2 separate regions of the Homo sapiens genome follow, and region 1 is linked to region 2. Evidence: promoter capture Hi-C in 16 types of primary human blood cells and fetal thymus (Javierre and others, 2016). All regions are on one chromosome and are shown on one strand. Each heading gives the region's core, a stretch centred on a gene start or on the middle of the fragment in contact. The rest is flanking DNA. Distances are from core to core; before and after follow the strand shown.

Evidence for each region. Contacts are between HindIII fragments. The CHiCAGO score rates a contact against its expected background, and 5 or more counts as called.
Region 1: a fragment that was not itself captured here is called in contact with the fragment with the promoter of BLVRA in region 2 in 2 of 17 cell types (naive CD8 T cells and total CD8 T cells); the score reaches 6.7 in naive CD8 T cells.

Annotation. Positions count from the first base shown.
Region 1 is chr7:42,918,155-42,920,854 of GRCh38, reverse strand. All of the region lies in intron 6 of PSMA2 (proteasome 20S subunit alpha 2), which reads left to right. It also overlaps the pseudogene LOC105375252. Among named protein-coding and RNA genes, the nearest start is that of C7orf25, 7.4 kb to the right of the region's middle. The HindIII fragment of the contact is 3,619 bases long and covers 1-2,700 here.
Region 2 is chr7:43,757,235-43,759,934 of GRCh38, reverse strand. BLVRA (biliverdin reductase A) reads right to left here and starts at 1,255. Exons shown (of 8, transcript NM_000712.4): 1 at 1,201-1,255. It also overlaps the pseudogene LOC107986727. RefSeq lists silencers at 831-1,150, 1,161-1,550 and a cis regulatory region at 2,572-2,700. The HindIII fragment of the contact is 5,653 bases long and covers 1-2,700 here.

The DNA.
Region 1 (2,700 bases), core at 113-2,612, 840 kb after region 2:
GTTGCTGCAAATGACAGGATTTCATTTTTTTATGGCTGAATAATAATAAAAAACTTCGTAACTCCGTTTAACAGATGAGCCTTCACAGTACATTTTTCACGTAACGTTAAGGTTATTAAAAATCTTAGGCCTGGATTTAAATGGTAAACTTAATCTTAGGCTCTTAAAGCACTTTTTCATTTTTCTTTTATATATTAATGAGTCTTCCAAAGATTTCACATTGTTATTACATGATATGTTATGATTTGTTTTATTTTTTGTTTCAGAGGCATTTTATTTAGACAACTAAAAATAATTAGATGTTCAGAACCAGTGTACAATGAAAGAAATTAAACCAGTTACTTTATCATGTATTCCCTCTTTACAACCAAAGCAAAAAACAATAGCAACAAAGACATTCTGCTTTAAGGGAAAAGTCAGACAAATAAGCCAATATATTTTTCTTCTCCATAATGACATAAACAGCTGCAAGAACTCTTAATTGTAATAAGAGAAGTTGGATGTTATCTTGTACATATTCATTAAAAAGATGACAGGCCATTGTACTACAAGAGGATAACTCAACCTCCCTTCATCTGATACTCTTGAGATTTCACTTATGGGTAACACCATGTTAGTTGTTTCAGCAATGGAGCTAATTCATATTCCTCATTATTTATTGCTGTTTTTGCCTTAAGCAGAGAGTAACTCTGGAAGGCTGATGCTTTTCTCTGCTTGCTCGTTCTAGTCCAGTTGTATGCTGTCTGTGGCACATGCTTGATGTTCAGGCCTTAACTTGAGGAGTTGAAGAATAGATGGAATCTGAATTCTCTGAAGCAATTTCTTCTAGCTCTTCTCTTGTCTTTGGAAAACCAATCTTTGGCTTTGCCAGCTCACCAGTATCTTCTTCAGGAAGCACACATTTCCAAAGGCCATATGTTTTTCCTACCACAGTTTGCCAGTCTCAGTGTTCCATCTTCAGAACCACTGGCATAGAGTTCTCCATCAGGATCAAATCTCACACAGTGAATAGGACCAGAGTGTCCTTTGTAGGATTCTAATTCTTCTCCACTATTATCATCATACTTATAAGTTTAACATCTTCACCACCTGCAACAAGAAATTCTTTCTCAAGGTGAAGAGATTCAGAGTTAATGTTTGCAGGAGCTTGAAAGGATTTAATTGGTTCCAAACTTACTGTACTGTCAAAAGCACTGGATCAGCCATAAGTTATTACCAAAATCTCTCCCTCAGAAATATATTCCATACTACTAGCCAACATAATAAAATTTAGAGATTTCACTTCTGTCATAGTAGCATGATCCCAAAGTCTTAACAGTTTTGTCATCAGAAGAAAGAATCTGTTTATCCTCACTGTACCATAGGGCCTTTTTAATATCAGAGCTGTGATCACTAATTTCCTCAGGTTCTGCTTCGGGTTTGTTCAAGTCATATATGCAAAACAGTTTATTCTGTCCCCTGGTTAACAAATAATTACTATCCTGCATGAAATCCATAGTCTTGATAATGTGTTTATGAGCCAGGGTCATCAGTTCATCTCCTGGGATAGCATCCCACACTTTGTGAAATCTGCAGCTGCTGTGGCTGCTTTGGTGGCATCCTTATTCAGTGTTGCATTCCAGACAGCATCTTTATGACCCAAAATTGTTCCAATCCAGTCTCCTGTATCTCCCTGGCATAGCATAGGTTTGCCGTCTTTGCAAGCACTGATTTAGAAATACTCATAAGACTGGCCAGGCGCAGTGGCTCACGCCTGTAATCCCAGCACTTTGGGAGGCCAAGGCAGGCGGATCACCTGAGGTCAGAAGTTCGAGACCAGCTGGGCCAACATGGTGAAACCCCGTCTCTACTAAAAATACAAAAATTAGCCAGGAGTGATAGCGCGCGCCTGTAATCCCAGCTACTCGGGAGGCTGAGGCAGGAGAATCACTTGAACCTGGGAGGCGGAGTTTGCAGTGAGCCAAGATTGCACCACTGCACTCCAGCCTGGGCGACAGAGCAAGATTCTGTCTTGAGGGAAAAAAAAGCCCCTAAGGCATGATGCCACTGAAGGCCAAGTCAGCCACGGGCCATATGTGGCCAGAACAGGTGAGCAGCATCAGTCTCATTGCTATGGAGGTGGTGAACCCAGTGATTGGGCTGGTGGGCTGAGGGTCATCCTTGTCTTTTCTCCTCTGGTACAGCGCCCGGGGTTCCTCCAGGCTTCACCCTAACACGGGCTGAGCAGAGAAAAAGGAAAAGGTGGCACCGAGATTAGGAAGGAGCTAGGGAGGGGCTGGGGAGTCTGGGAAGGGTGAGCAACAGTTGACAATGGAGGGAGGAAAGTAGGGGATGGGGAGAACCGAAGAAACGACCCAGCCACTCTTCGCACCGTCCACACTGGTATCGGCAGGAAGTGACATGTTATGTTTTAACTTATAAGAAAAAGATTTTAGCAAAGTTCTGATTTTTCTGTGTTTTAAAAATTATAATAATGCCACCACATCCTGATTGTTAAAATATTTATACTTAAGAAGTTTCCTGGCTGGGTGTGTTGGCTCGTGCCTGTAATCCCAGCACTTTGGTAGGTCAAGGCAGGCGGATCACGAGGTCAGGAGATCGAGACCATCCTGGCTGACACAGTGAAACCCATCTCTACTAAAAATACAAAGAAATTAGCTGGGCGTAGTGGGCGCCTGTAGTCCCAGCTACTTGGGAGGC
Region 2 (2,700 bases), core at 6-2,505:
TATAATTAGAGACCCTATTGTAATTTTTAGCTCTCTGGCTACAGAATTTCCCTTCTGATACTTTGTCTAACATTTGACTTGTTTTTCTGGAATGCATCCCGTTAAGGGAAGGATGAGCATATTTATCAATACAATCTTTTAGGAAATAATTAGGAATATACCAATACCTTTATTTCCATAATTTTAATATCTTCTTGGGAATCGTACTATAGAAATTACATTAATGATGGAAAAACTTTCAGCACAGTATTGCTTCCTTTGTAGGTGGTGATGATGACAGCTAACATTTACTGAATCCTTCCCATGCTGAAAACCCTATTGTAAGCTATTTATGTTCGCTAAGTCACTTATTCTTCAGGGCTATCCTACTAAGTAAGCATTATGATTACCCCCACTTTTACAGGTGAGAAAATCGAGGCAACAAGAGGTTGGTTAACGTGCCCAAGATCAGATCGCACAGCGGTATAATAGGATGGAAAACTCCTATCACATAATGAACGTTAAGTGAAAAAAATTAGTATCCAAAACTGTAAGTCTGATGTCTCATTCTTTTTATAATTTAAGTAGTTTATAAATACCCTCATTATTAGCCATATTTCTGAGCACTTCATATGTAGAGTGCACTTTACAGAACACTGTCATGTAACCCTCACACCGTCTACGAAATAAGTGATAGTTTCCAGTTTCCAAAAACGAAAGCGGGGCTAGGAGAGGCCAAGTGCCTCGCGTGGCGCCTCAGGATTCGCCCCAGCGGAGCAGACCCCAGGGCATCCCAGGCGGGTCCCGGCCGAGCTAGCGGCCCTGCGGTGGCTACGCCCGGGCCCAGCCGCTCGCGCTCCTGGAGCCGCCGGACTACGCGGCACGCGGACGCCGAGCCTGCCCTCTTGGGTCTACATAAAAACCGAAACTACGGGCAGTCTTAACCGAAATGGAGACTTAATTTTTTAGACTGTCTTTTGTGTAGTTGAGAAAGCCCCTTGCCGGGACCCGCGCTGCTGGGCCTCCGACCGCGTCCTCACTCCGGGCCCGGGCGGGGCGGGGCGGGGCAGGCGGCGCCCAGGCTGCGTCCCGGCTCTGGCGGCCGCGGGCCCGGGCCTCCTGCGGGCCTGGGGCTTCGAGCTCAGGCCCTAGCGCTCTATGGAAGCCGCGCGCGACCCCCGCTCCCCTGCGCGCGACCCCCGTTCCCCGCGCGCGCCTCACCTGACGCGGGCACCGCTCTCCGTGCAGCCTCCGGGCGCCACCGGCTTTGCGGACCGGGGCGGGATCCCAGCTCCGATTGGCTGCCCGGCTGGGGGGCGGGGGCCCCGAAGCGGGGTGGCGGAGACCGGGAGGGGACCGGAGGCGGTGGGGAAGGGAGTGGACGGAAGGGGAGGGAGGGTCCCGGCCTCGTGCGGTCGCGCGTGAGATCCTGGCCTCTGTGCCCTGGGTCTGGCGCCTGGGGCCGTAAGAACCGTCCGTGCGCCTGCCCTGTTCTCTGCACCCAGCTTGGTGGCGAGGGGTGGGTGGTGGGTGCCGGCCGACCGGAGGGCGTATGGAAGTGGCTGGGCCCCCTCACGGTGTGCCTGGCCCCCTCACGGTGTGCCTGGCCCCGGCGTGGGGGGGGCAGGCCCGGGGGGTGTCGCATCTCTCTTATCCGCCCCCCACTCACCACGTAGAACCCACTGGATCCCATTGGTATTTAGTGGCCCCGGGCCGACTGAACTGGCGCCGAGGCTTACCTGAGTCCTTCCTGTAAATGTGAGGAGCGGAGGGAATATTCCAGGAGGCCGGTGTCTGCGATGTCCTGCTCTTGGGTAGCTAGGAAGTAGTGAACGTGGTCTAGGGAACTGCCTGGGCTCTTATCCACCTGGGAATGGGTTTGTTGGGGATCCTGATGTGGGAGAAGCCAGGGAGCTTCTAGCCTAGTGGGGCTAGGGGAGAAAACAGGGAGAGGGGTGGATTAGGCTGAAGGAAAGAGATCTCTGATCTTAAAGGCAGCGTTCTGACGGGTAAGGTTGACTGGCATTTTCCCCAACAAAGAGTTCTAGTACCGTATTCCATGACCTGACAAGCCTGTTTAAGTGAGGTTTTGTTGAGTGCAAAGAGAGAAGGCTTGGCTTTGAATTTTTATCTCCAGGCGGGACCTGCCTCCTGAACTCCATACTCCTCTATCCAGCTGCCTCCTTAATACCTCCTCTTGGATCTCTAAAATACATTTCAATCTCAACACATCCAAATCTGTGCCCCTGATCTCTTCCCCATAGCATCACCATCTCGATGGCAACTCCATCTTCCAGTTGTCAAGGCCAGAAACCTTGCTGTTTCAGAAACCTTTCTCTCACATCCCACCTCCAGGGCCCAAAAATTCTGTTGGTTGGATCTCCCTAGCATACCCAGAGCCTGACCACTTCTTACCTCTGCCTCCATCATCTGCTACCTGGGTCATGACAGTGGTCTCTTCCCTGATATCCCTGCAGCCTGTCCCCATAAAGCAGCCAGAGTGACCTTAAAAAAAGAAAGCCAGATCAAATTCCTCCTCTGCCCAAAACCTTCCCAGTGGTTTCCCAAACTCAGAGTAAAACCCAAAGCCCTGCCTGATCTGCTCCTCTGTTACCCCTACAACCTCATCTGCTACTGCCTCCCCACTGGCTCACTCTGCTCCAGTCACTCTGGCCTCCCTGCTATTTCTTATGCAAGGCAGACAGGGCTCTGCTGCAGGGT